Linked DNA regions of Homo sapiens: region 2 is linked to region 1. The links are contacts of gene promoters, found by promoter capture Hi-C in human tissues and cell types (Jung and others, 2019). All regions are on one chromosome and are shown on one strand. Each heading gives the region's core, a stretch centred on a gene start or on the middle of the fragment in contact. The rest is flanking DNA. Distances are from core to core; before and after follow the strand shown.

Region 1 (6,929 bases), core at 823-3,322:
CAGCTACTCGGGAGGCTGAGGCAGGAGGATCGCTTGAACCTGGGAGGCTGAGGTTGCAGTGAGCCAAGATCACGCCATTGCACTCCAGCCTGGGCAACAAGAGCGAAACTCTGTCTCAAAAAAGAAAAAAAAAAGCCTCCCAAGTGATTCCAATAAATCCCTCTAATCTAGGGGAAGTTACCCTACCTACTTCCCACTGAAAGTAATTGGCCTAATGAGTTTAGCCCACATACAACAGCACATTGCCATATTTCTCTAGATAACATTTTATAACATGGAAGTCAAAAGATTCTGGAACTGTAACTATATACAGAAAAGACCTAAGTAAAATGCTCTCCAGAATTTAGATTCTCATTCTCTCTTTTCTGGAGAGCTCTAAAAAATATCTGATTCCCTGTTCTTTGTCAAATCCAAATCCACATATAATATAACATAACATTACCTAAGCTGCTGTTCTTTGCTGGCATCTTGTTCTAAAGCATGAAAGTCCACGGACAACAATGCAACAATGGAGTTGACAGCTTCCACTCCAGAAAGAAGGCGAAGGATGAGTTTCTTATCCTGAGCCCAGCTTTGGCTCTGGTCAGCAGGTGCACAAAGTGCCATCCGTACCAAACAGGGCAGAAGAAGTCTTAATTCTGGATCACTTAAAGATGCCAGGCAAACAACATCCACCTTCTGCATTGCCTCAAAAGCAAAAGGGCTGACAAACTGAAGACTTGTACATTCAGTCATTATTACTGTTTGTTGATCCTAATGGTAAAAATACAAATGAAAGTAGGAGTTTAACTTTCACATGTATGAACACCCAACTTTCTAAAAACCCTGAAAAATGTGGTGTATCTTTAATAGGTCCCTATGTTGGCAATGTTCCTGGCACAATCAAGACAAGGCTTCTCTGTCTCCCTAGGTTTATACTGTCACCTGGGAAATGGGAAAGAAAACAGAGTATATTAATGTCTCTTCCAGCCTCAGGAATCTTCTGCTCTAATACTCATATTTTACAAAGAAGGAATATGAAGCCCAGAGAGATGAAGTAACACGCCCAAAATAGTATTACTAGTTAGAGGCACAATCCAAGGCTGAATCCTCATCTACTAAAATCCCAGTCCAAGACTTTCTCCACTATATCAGTCACATGAGCTCCACAAAATGTAAACAAAAGTGAATGGTCATAGTTAAGTGCTTTCTTTCATACCCCGATAGTTTCACATGCCTACCCCGATATACATCAAGAACTATTGGGCTTCTCTTTCTCACCCTCCATGAGTCGGTGGAAAAACTAGCAAATCACTGGGCAGAACCAATGCCAGATTCAAGGCTCTGGAGGCCACAACACTATCCTATGTCCCCTGTGTTACCGGGTAAAAAGCAGATGTGTGGGTGCTATGTGAGAAAGACGCGTCTCATTAGCGCACTTCTCTGTCTCCAGGAATCATCCAAGGCACAAAAAGTAAACAAAAAGGCAGTGAGCTGGCAGCCAAAGCAGTCCCCTCTCAAGGCCGACCGACTAGCAGCAGCGTGGGTAAAAGTCGTGGGTAAAAACTGCTTTGCTTTCAGGGAGGGGCTGCTCTTTTAACAGAGGGGCGGGCTGACTGGAGCAGAGGAGCCAAGACCTGCGTGCTCCTCCGTCTCGCCCCGGGCGCAACTAGAACCAATAAGTCCCTCAGGCTGAGCAAAGTCTGGCCAGGCTCCGACACGGACCTAGGAACGCGCTGAGGCCAGAGAAGCGGACGCTTCATACCTTAAGATCTACCCTCCAGCCTCACGGAACCGCACACGGACTCCGCGTCCTAGAGGCGGGACGCGGCAGAAATCGAGAGCGCGGTCCGATGTTGGGCCTAGGCGATATCCGGAACCCCAAACCCTAGTTGTGCCTCGAGTCGACTCGGACACCAAGAACTCAGACGCCGGGACCAACCGGGTTGTCGATACAAAGTGGGAAGGATGGGGGCACCACACAAAGGCAGAACCGGGACTGTAGGAACGGAAAAGCGGGAGACTTTTTCAACCTGCACCCAGCACCTTCATTCATCCCCAGCGTCTGACTCCCGTCGGCCACCGTACTGGTCTGAGAGGAAGGGTGGCTGCGAGAGGAAAGGCAGAGACGTCGGCGCCAATGCAACTGTGCGCGTGCGCGGCCCCGCCCCTTTCTCCACTTTATTTGCCCTGCCCTACTTGTTCGCCAAAAATTTAGAAATGTGATTCTGGTAGGCTCTGATTTCCAGAGCCTACCAGCTCCTTCCTTTTAGACAAGCAAGCCACTGAGCCCCTCAGAACTTAAATTTCATCATCACAGGATTGCCATGGCATTCAAATGGCATAACGTGTGTTAAAATCGTTCCCACTATTCTTTGACACTAGTGGTACCAAACTGTACTCTTTAAATCTTTGCCTGTGCCTTCCCAGAACCAAAATTCTAGAATCCCAGGATTTGTGGGAGAATTTTAAAAGTGATCTAACCCCAAACTTTCTTCCGCTCTTGACCTCACACCTCCGCTGTCAGAAGTTAAACACCTTCCTTTCAGGTTCTTAACTTGGGGGACCCATAGAACCTTAGAGAGGCAATGCACGGGGATTCAGGAATTCTCTGGAATCCGTTCAGAACTGAGTGCTCGGCACTTCTTCTGGGAAGAGGGTCCAAAACTTTCAACAACTTCTCAAAGGAAGTCTGATCACTCAGAAAAGAACCACTAGTCTATATATGAAGAACCGCTAGTCCATATGTCTTCATACTATTTATTGTTCCTAGTTCGATCAACGTTTATTTGGCAACTTCTATTTACCAGATATTGTGCTAGGAGCTGGAAATAAAAATATTTTACAAAGATATAGCACTTTATAACCTCTTTAAAAATAAAGTCAGAGCCGGGCGTGGTGTCTCATGCCTGTAATCCCAGCGCTTTGGGAAGCCGAGGCGGGCGGATCACCTGAGGTCAGGAGTTCGAGACCAGCCTGACGCAACATGACTAAACCCCAACTCTACAAAAAATATAAAAATTAGGCCGAGCACGATGGCTCATGCCTGTAATCCTAGCACTTTGGGAGGCCGAGGCAGGCAGATCACGAGGCCAGGAGTTCGAGACCAGCCTGACCAACATGGTGAAACTCCGCCTCTACTAAAAATGCAAAAATTAGCCAGGCGTGGTGGTGTGCGCCTGTAATCTCAGCTACTTGGGAGGCTGAGGCGGGAGCATTGCTTGAACCTGGGAGGCGGAGGTTGTGGTGAGCTGAGATCGTGCCATTGCACTCCAGCCTAGGCAATAAGAGCGAAACTCCGTCTCAAAAAAAAAAAAAAAAAAAAAAAATTACCCCAGCGTGGTGATGGAGCACCTGTAGTCCCAGCTACTTCGGAGGCTGAGACAGGAAAATCACTTGAACCTAGGAGGCAGATGTTTCAGTGAGCAGAGATCATGCCACCGCACTCCAGCCTGGGCAACAGAGCCAGACTCCATCTCAAAAATATATATATATATATGACTTTCAACATAGATCAGCAAAGGAAGAAAAGAATTGTGTGTTGCAATGCTTCTGAAAATTTTTTCCACCTGACCCACAATAATACATTTCACATTGTGACCCAGAAAAAACATATGTATATATCCACATACAAAAATAAGTGTAAGTGTATAAATTTATATGCTATATAAACATATAAATATATAACATATAAACCCACATTTACATGGAAACAAATATTTCGTATAATAACACACACACTACATGTTTCTACTTCTCTTTAAAAAACTGCTGGTCACTGCACACTAAAACTGATTTCACACTCTATTAATGGGTTGCACACTGTACTGTCCTAGCATTTTTAAGCTAATATTTGGGATTTATTTATTGAACACTTGCTAGGCACTGTAATAAATGCTTTATATATATTATCTGATTCAATCTTGTGACGTAGGTAATATTCGCCTTTTGCAATTGTGGAAACTGAGAGAGGGTAAGCAATTTCATCTCCATGGATGGTCATTTCACAGGAAAAGTGTGAAGGCAGTGCAAACATTGGTTTGAGGGACGAATGAGAGGAAGATGTGGGTATGAACTAAGTGATTTTAAAGATCCTTTCCAACTCTAATTATGATCCTCTGTTCACTAATGGAGAAACATCATGCAGATTCAGTATCTCCATCTTGATCTATGGAGAAACAGAAAAATCACTGAATGAGATGGCTGCAGTGTCACATAATGAGTGCTGACACTTCCTCCAAGTCCCCCTCTCCTTTTCTTCCAGTTCACCAACTTGACCTTGAGTTGCTCAAGCCAGAAACCTAAAAGTCATCCTAGACTCTAATCTCTCCCCCTTGTATTAATTTAGCAAAAATCTTTATAATCATTGAAACATTGTAATGTTTGCCAATAAAACTTTTTTTTTTTTGAGACAGAGTCTCGTTCTGTTGCCCAAGCTGGAGTGCAGTGGCACGATCTCGGCTCACTACAACCTCTGCCTCCCAAGCTGAAGCAATCCTCCCACCTCAGCCTCCTGAGTAGCTGGGACAATAGGTGTGCACCACCACACTTGGCTAATTTTTTTTTTTTTTTTTTTGAGACAGAGTCTCGCTGTGTCACCCAGGCTGGAGTGCAGTGGTGCGATCTTGGCTCACTGCAACCTCCGCCTCCCAGGGTCAAGCGATTCTCCTGCCTCAGCCTCCTGAGTAGGTGGGATTACAGGTGCCTGCCACCATGCCTGGCTAATTTTTTGTATTTTTAGTAGAGACAGGGTTTCACCATGTTGGCCAGGCTGGTCTCAAACTCCTGACCTCAGCTGATCCACCCACCTTGGCCTCCCAAAATGCTGGGATTTCAGGCATGAGTCCCTGTACCCAGCCTCTCTTTTTTTTTCCTTTTCGACACAAGTTCTCAAGAAAAGAGCGGCAGTGCAGTTGGGCGATCTTGGCTCACTACAACCTCAACCTCCTGGGCTCAGGTGATCCTCCCACTTCAGCCTCCCAAGTAACTGAGACTATGGTCATGCATCACCACACCTGGCTAATTTTTCTATTTTTTTGTAGAGACAGGGTTTCATTATGTGGCCAGGCTGGTCTTGAACTCCTGGACTCAAGCCATCTGTCCCCCCTCAGTCCACCAAAGTGCTAGGATTACAGGTGCAAGCCACTGCACCTGGCTTGACCAGCTTGCTTTTATTCTTCTACTTTATTTTTCAATCAGACTGGAGGAAGAGAGAAACACAAGTAATGAAAAAATGAGAAAAACAGAAAAACACATTAGAATATCTATTATGTTTCATGTATACTAGGTGCTTAATGTAGGTTGCAGAGTAATTGAGCTTCCAGCAGTTAGAAGACCTAACTATACAAAGGTGAGGACCAATGTCCTTCAGAAATAGTCATAGAATTCCAGAAGCACAAGGATCTCAGAAGACATCTAGCTCCATTTTGCTCAACATGATGCTCTTTATAGTGTGACTATTTTATCTTGTAAGATGTCTTTCAGGAGGGCACGATGGCTCATGCCTGTAATCCCAGCACTTTGGGAGGCCGAGGCGGGTGGATCACGAGGTCAGGAGTTCTAGACCAGCCTGGCCAATATGATGAAACCCTGTCTCTACTAAAAATACAAAAATTAGTTGGGTGTGGTGGTGTGCACCTGTAGTCCCAGCTGCTTGGGAGGCTGAGGCAGGAGAATCGCTTGAACCCGAGAGGTGGAGGTTGCATTGAGCCGAGATTGCGCCACTGCACTCTAGCCTGGGCAACAGAGTGAGACTCCATCTCAAAAAATATATATATTCTTTCATGTTTCAGCCTGTAAAGATCTTTGACTCTTTTACACTGGCTATCTGTTTTAGCTTAGCAGATCATATCTTCATTAATATTATGGATAAAACATTGAATAGAATTGGGTCCAGCCAAGACTTCTAGTTCAGCATTAGAGACATCCCTCCAGGTTGACATAGCTCCACCAATCAAGGCTCAAGTATGAGACTGTTTTATAAATCAGCCCAACTACTAAAACACTACCCTGCTTTGGGATAAAGTTGAATTTCTTTAGGATGGAACTAAAAAGACAGATTGATTGATTATATTTTTTTGAGACAGAGTCTCGCTCTGTCACCCTGGATGGAGTGCAGTGGCTCAATCTTGGCTCACTGCAACCTCCGCCTCCCAGGTTCAAGCAATTCTCCTGCCTCAACCTCCCAAGTAGCTGGGATTACAGGCACCTGCCACCATGCCCAACTAAATTTTTGTGTATTTTTAGGAGAGACGGGGTTTCACCATGTTGGCCGGGCTTGTGTCAGTCTCCTGACCTCAAGTGATCTGCACGGCTTGGCCTCCCAAAGTGCTGAGATTACAGGCGTGAGCCACTGTGCCAAGCCCTAAGACAGATTTTTTTTTTTTGAGGTGGAGTCTCAGTCTGTCGCCCAGGTTGGAGTGCAGTGGCACAATCTCAGCTCATTGCAACCTCTGCCTCTTGGGTTCAAGCGATTCTCCTGCCTCAGCCTCCTGCGTAACTGGGATTACAGGCACCCACCACCATGCCTGGCTAAATTTTTTGGGGTATTTTCAGTAGAGATGGGTTTTCACCATGTTGACCAGGCTGGTCTCAAACTCTTGACCTCAGGTGATTTGCCCACCTCAGCCTCCCAAAGTGCTGAGATTACAGGCTTGAGCCACTGCGCCCAACCCAAAAACAGATTTTTATGGTCTGACTTAAAACTCTAGCTTGGAGTCCTGCCGTATCCCACCATGGTGTCATTTTAGTCAGTTGGAACTGTTTATGTCTCAAATCCTTCTCAATATTCTTGGACCTTCTCATCACAGTTCCTCCTGTCTAGAATGCTTTTCATTCTCTTTTTTAATGCAAACTCCTAAGTGTCCTTTAAGTCTCACCTCCAGTGTTCCCTTGCTAAGAGACCTTTCCCTGACAAACCACCTACCCTTTAACTTATCAGGTATCCCTAT
Region 2 (6,929 bases), core at 2,047-4,546, 100 kb after region 1:
CCAGACTGTGTCACAACTATTCAACTCTGCCATTGTGGGGTAAAAGTGACCACAGACAATATGTAAATAAATGAATGTGGCTGTGTTCTAATAAATCCTTATTTATCAATACTGAAATCCGAATTTCACACAACTTTCACATACCATAAAACATTCTTTATTTTTTTCAACTTTTAAAAAACGTAAAAATCATTTTCAGTTGGCTGGGCATGGTGGCTCACACCTATAATCCCAACACTTTGGGAGGCCAAGGCAGATGGATCACCTGAGGTCAGGAGTTTGAGAACAGACTGACCAACATGGTGAAACCCCGTCTCTACTAAATAATACAAAAAATTAGCCAGGTATGGTGGCGCGTGCCTATAGTCCTGGCTATTCTGAAGGCTGAGGCAGGAGAACTGCTTGAACCTGGGAGGCGGAGGTTGCAGTGAGCCGAGATCACACCATTGCACTCCTGTCTGCGAGATATCGTCTCAAACAAATTAAAAAAAATCATTTTCAGCTTACAGGCCATACAAAACAGGCAGTGGGCCAAATATGGCGAATTCATCACTGTTTGCTGACCCCCATTCTTATACAAATTATGTTCAGATTAGGTGTGGTTTTTTTAGCTATTTTAAACTGCTAAACAATAGCTAAATATATCCTTGTTTTTATTCCAATCTCTCTAACAGAGGTAAATTTTCAACAAAGTTGCCAGACTTTTAAAAATTACGTATTCTTTAATCCAAAGAGCCTCCATAAGAATATTCAATTTATGCAAAAACATAACAGCACACTTGAGAGAGTCTGTTATTATATATTCAAACCAACAGAGCAAATGTAAGAAAAACCTTGGCCCTAACCTGCAGGCACTCCATTTGTTTGGTTCACTTCCATGAGAAAGACAGGTGACCATCTATTCCATCACAAGTTCTGACTAGGGATGTCAAGGCCATTACTGTTTACTTGAATGCAAAAGCCTATGATCTATGTTTAATCTGCAGGATAAAATAATAAACTCTAGGCAACATAATTTTAAAACTTCTCATAACCAAACCTTATCAAAAGGCCTTTATAAACTAAATAAATTTCTAAAGAATTCCACGTTCATCTATTCTTCTACCAATCATTCAACCAATATAATCCATTAGAAAGCGTGACAGTTTTGTCATGCTTTGAGTTTTGCTCCCTTGTGACAGTTCTTCCCTTACAGAATCCTATTTTCTGAATCTTATTTCAACATTTCACCTACAGCTGCCCAAAGAATGTTATAAGAAATTACTCCACAAAATCCATCACTGTATTTATCATTAAAAAAAAAAAAAAAAAGACTGTAGCTGGAAGCACTCCCCTTGAAAAGTGGCACAAGATAAGAATGCCTCCTCTCACTCCTATTCAAAATAGTATGGGGAGTCCTGGCCAGAAGAATCAGGGAGAAAAAAATAAAGGGCATTCAAATAGGAAGAAAGGAAACAAAAGTAACCCTGTTGGCAGACAACATGATTCTAGACCTGGAAAACCTCACAGTCTCAGCCCAAAAGCTCCTTCAGCTGATAAACAACTTCAGTAAAATTTCAGGATACAAAATCACTGTACAAAAATCACTAGCATCCCTATATACCAACAACAGCCAAGATGAGAGCCAAATCAGAAATGCAATCCCAGTCACATCTGCCACAAAAAGAGTAAAATAACTGGGAATACAGCTTACCAGAAAGGTTAAAGATCTCTACAATAAGAATTACAAAACACTGCTCAAAGAAATCAGAGATGATGCAAAAAAACAGAAAAACATTCCATGCTCATGGATAGGAAGAATCAATATCCTTAAAATGGCCATACTGCCCAAAGCAATTTGGATTCAATGCTATTCTTATCAAACTACCAATGACATTCTTCACAGAACTAGGAAAAACTATTTTTAAATTTCTATGAAATTCAAAAAGAGCCCAAATAGCCAAGGCAATCCTAAGCAAAAAGAACAATGCTGGAGGCATCATGTTACCTGGCTTAAACAATACTATAGGACTACAGTTACCAAAACAGCATGGTACTGGTACTAAAACAGACACATAGACCAATGAAACAGAATAGAGAGCCCAGAAATAAGGCTGCACTGCCACAACCATCTGATCTTTGACAAAGCTCACAAAAACAAGCAATGGGGAAAGGACTCCCTATTCAATAAATGGTGCTGGTATAAGTGGCTAGTCATATGCAGATGACTGAAATCGGACCCCTTCCTTAATACATAAACATCAACTCAAGATGGATTAAAGACTGAAATGTAAAACCCAAAACTATAAAAACCCTGGAAGACAACCTAGACAATACCACTCTGGACACAGAAATGGGCAAAAATTTCATGACGAAGATGTCAAAAGCAATCACAACAAAAGCAAAAACTGACAGATGGGATCTAATTAAACTAAAGAGCATTTGCACAGCCACAGAAATTATCAACAGACTAAACAGATAACCTACATAATGGGAGAAAAGTTTTGCAAACTATGCTGACAAATGTCTAATATCCAGTATCTAAAAAAACTTAAATTTATATATAAAAAAAATCCTGTTAAAAAGTGGGCAAAGGACATGAAAACTTTTCAAAAGAAGACATATGTGCAGCCAACATGCATATGTAAAAAAGCTCAACATCACTGATCATTAGAGAAATGCAAATCAAAACCATAATGAGATAACATCTCACACCAGTCAGAATGGCTATTATTAAAAAGTCAAAAAATAACAGATGCTGGCGAGGTTGAGAAGGAAACATTTATACACTGTTGATGGAAGTGAAAATAGTTCAACCACTGTGGAAAGCAGTGGTGATTCCTCAAAGAGCTACAACTACCATCCGACCCAGCAACCCCATTACTGGTTATATACCCAGGGAATATAAATCATTCTACCATAAAGACACATATACGCAAATGTCCACTGCAGCACTATTCACAATAGCAAAGACATGGAATCAACCTAAATGCCCATCAATGACAGACTGGATAAAGAAAATGTGGTACATATACACCATGGAATACTGTGCAGCCATAAAAAAAGAATGAGATCATGTCATCTGCAGGAACATGGATGAGCTGGAGGTCATTATCCTTAGCACAGGAACAGAAAGCCAATTACTGCCTGTTCTCACCTATAAGTGGTAGCTAAATGATGAGAACTCATGGACACAAAGAAGGGTCCAACAGACACTGGGGTCTACTTGAGGGTGGAGGCTGGCAGGAGCAACAGGAGCAGAAAAAGTAACTACTGGGTACTAGGCTTAGTATCTGAGTGACAAAATAATCTATACAGCAAACCCTTGTGACATGACTTTACCTATTTCACAAACCTGCACATGTAACCCTGAACCAAAAATAAAAGCTTAAAAAAAAAGAAATGAAATTACTCTTCAAAACCCAACACTGTATTTACTATTAAAAAAAGATTGTATCATGAGGTCAGGAGATTGAGACCATCCTGGCTAACACAGTGAAACCCTGTCTCTACTTTAAAAAAAAAAAAAAAATTAGCTGGGCATGGTGGCGGGCGCCTGTAGTCCCAGCTACTTGGGAGGCTGAGGCAGGAGAATGGCGTGAACCCGGGAGGTGGAGCTTGCAGTGAGCCGAGATCACGCCACTGCACTCCAGACCAGGGGACAGAGCAAGACTCCATCTCAAAAAATAAAAAATAAAAAAAGATTACTGTAGGCCAGATATGGTGGCTCACACCTGTAATCATAGCACTTTGGAAAGCCAAGGGGAGGACTGTTTGAGGTTAGGAGTTCGAAATAAGCCTGGACAACATACCAAGATCCCCTCTCTACGAATTTTTTTTTCTTTTAATTAGCCAGGTGTGGTGGCACATGCCTATAACCCTAGCTACTTGGGAGGCTGGGGCAGGAGGATCGACTGAGGCCAGAAGTTTGAGGTTGCAGTGAGCCATGATCACTCCAGCCTGGGTAACAAAGCAAGACCCTGTCTCTTCATTTTTTAAAAAAAGAAAGAACTCTTGGGATAAATTTCTCAGGTAGTGCCATTGAGGAAGGAATGCTTTTCTCAAGAGATTTATATGGCTGTATAGCTTATAGATACTATATATACCATAGCTCCATATAAAATTGTCTTTTATTTAGCTACTAGGAAACAAAACTTTCAGAGTCTGCCTCTGGTAACAGTGAATGAACTGAAAGCTTATATTTACATGTACTTCTATAATCAGCTTCAAATTCCTGAAATATTTTTCCTGAATTTTCTTTTGAAAAAAAATCCTGACATATGTTCATGTAAGCTGTTTCAAATAAAGTGGGCATAAGCATTCAGTGGCGTAACAAACTATCACACATAGGCATCAATCGATCGGGAAATAATCTACCTCAAACAACTGCAATTTGTTCTTTGTGTGGCTTCAACAAAATCCCAGGATGCCACTTTAGCAGCTGTCGCTTCTTCGCATAGACCACCTGATGAAGCAGAATACTTCCTCCTAAGATTTAAAGTTACAAAATTCTTTAAAATTCATAAAATTTTCTATCAAACCTCAATGTAGCATTGAAATTAATTTTAAAGATCAACATTATGAGTTAAAGAAAAATCAAACAAATGACTGTTTATACTTTAGATATCTTCTAATTATAAGTAATTATCAACATGCAATTTTTGAACTTATAAATGAAAATACACACTTGTTCTGTGCTCTGTTCATATTGCATTCTTGCCAAACTCTATCCACCACATGATTTGCTAATTTTCTGGGTATTTTCCCACCATGGTGGCTAGTACTATCGGAGTTGAAGCCATCAGATACTGAAGAAAATTTGACCCACTTCTGGACAGACTGAGGATCAACTGAAAACAAAACAAAAAAACAGGCTGTAGGAGAATAAAGGTAGGTTTAAAGTAACATTATTTGGGTTTTTTATTAATTTGTGATACAAGCTGCTCCAGCTATCTGGTAAAATTATTTATATTTTGAGATAAAAAGCATGCTACTTTTTGGAACCAGATCTCATTAGGCAAATGTGGCAATCAAGTACATCTCTGTAACCTACCACTCTCAGTACCAAGAGTGGGGTTCTCAGGAGCCAGGCAGGGCCAGCACACGGTGGCGTGTCGGGGGAGGTGGGCTGAGGGCAAGGAAGGAGGTGTCCCATGGATCATGCTGTATAAGCAAACCAGACTATCCTGATGCCCAGAGTGACATCATCAAGGTCAGAGGCTGGCCAGAGGTGGGGAGACTGGAAGGACTTCGGAGTAGTGCGAAGGGGCCCTGGACACCAGCCATGGAGCTGCTGCACAGAGCCTGGCTTCCACATCAAGGTGGGGTTTGGAGGCCAGGATGAGCCCCTGCAGCGGCAGCACTCTGGCCCTTCTGTCCCTGCCAGCCTCTGACCTGGGTCAGTCAATCATTGCTGGATTTTAGCCAAACACTTTAGTGTTCTCATTTAGTTGGAAATTAGACAGTCTTTTTTGTAAGGTCAGCTGAGCATGAGCATATTTCCCCTCCATTGTAAAAAGCTCTTCTGTGTTTTTATACGTTTCTCCTCCATTGTAAAAAGTTCTTCTGTGTTTTTGTTTTAAAGGTAGATGGAGGGAGGGCAGAGATATAAACTGTTGCATGAATCGATGGGTCAGAACTTTAGTATATGCGTATGTTCTTCTGAGTAACAGGGCGTTTTGCTGAAAATAAGCACCTTGGTAACTAAACCCCTTTTAATAGCTAAAACGCTTTAGTTCTGTATTGACAGTTACTGTAAAAGCTTGGGTTTATTTTTGTAGGACTTAAGGGCTAAGAATTAGAACACAGCAATGGGCTGCTCTGTTGGAGTAATTTTAATTATAGATAAACACATAAACCTTTAAAAATAAAAGCACGCTACTTTTAAATACAGAAAGCAAAATATCTAAAACAGGGAATGCAAACTGGATGGCAGTGTATCAATGCTGATTTTCTGACTAAGAGGATCGAGTAATAGTTGTATAGGAGAGTGTCCTTAATTCTGGGAAACACACTGAGTACACAGGAGTGATGGGACATCATGTCTGTAGGTTGTTCTCAAATGGTTCAGAAAAAGACCAATGATAATGAATGTACATCATACAGACAGGGTGATGGAGTAAATAATAACAGTTTGGAAATATGGCTAAGGAAATTACTTGTACTACACTTGTAAATTCTCAAGAAGTTTGAAACTATTTCAAAATAAATTATTTCTTAAGTACTTACTGTACACAAAATAACAAATTACCAGAGCTGATGAGACAAATTACTGCTATACCTGTTTGGACTTCCTCAGGAGACGTAGGTGGTGTAAGCGTAACCGAAGACATAGCAGGATCTCTTGTGGAAGCAGGCACTTGGTGGACACCCAAGCAAGAAGATGAACAGTGAGTGGATCCCACAGGGCTAGGAGTAGGAATGTCTGACTGAGGGACTAGAACAAAGCATGCTGGGTAGATCATTCGGACACCAGCTGAAAGGAAAAAAATGGGACAGGAAAACCAATTACCTTTGTGACTAGTGAATTAGTTTCACTCAAAAGTACTATAATGGAAAAGTAGGTATCACATTTATACAAATAAAAATACATTTTTATAAATATAAGCTTCTTTGGCATAAGTTTTTCTTTTCTTTTTTTTTTTTCTCTTTTTTAGAAGAAACCACAATAAACCACAATAAGCTGTCAGTGGTGGTTATCTTTGCTGAGAGAGATTTGGAAAAAGGCAGCTTTCCTTTTTTTAGATTTCTAGAAATGTGTTTTTTAAATCTTTATGTGCACTTCTGACCAACTTAATGTGTATTACTTTTTCAATTTTATTGTTTAAGTTTAACAAAGGTAATCTGGACACTAGAATTATGAACCATTTTCTACTTACTTTTCTATATGCCTCTATTTTAAAAGCCTAAAAAATGTGTGTTTTTTCTGTTTCTGTCACAACTGCTCTAGT

What was found. The method cuts DNA at HindIII sites, captures the fragments that hold promoters and counts their contacts. A contact is called where the count stands out against the background at its distance.
Region 2: a fragment that was not itself captured here is called in contact with the fragment with the promoter of INTS2 in region 1 in 2 of the 25 tissues and cell types used here (adrenal gland and liver).

Annotation. Positions count from the first base shown.
Region 1 is chr17:61,925,910-61,932,838 of GRCh38, forward strand. INTS2 (integrator complex subunit 2) reads right to left here and starts at 2,073. Exons shown (of 25, transcript NM_001351695.2): 1 at 1,745-2,073; 2 at 443-753. The coding sequence starts at 735. RefSeq lists a silencer at 2,104-2,203. The HindIII fragment of the contact is 16,998 bases long and covers 1-6,929 here.
Region 2 is chr17:62,025,185-62,032,113 of GRCh38, forward strand. It overlaps MED13 (mediator complex subunit 13), which reads right to left. Exons shown (of 30, transcript NM_005121.3): 6 at 6,260-6,454; 7 at 4,667-4,829; 8 at 4,357-4,467. Among named protein-coding and RNA genes, the nearest start is that of MED13, 37 kb to the right of the region's middle. The HindIII fragment of the contact is 3,322 bases long and covers 1,636-4,957 here.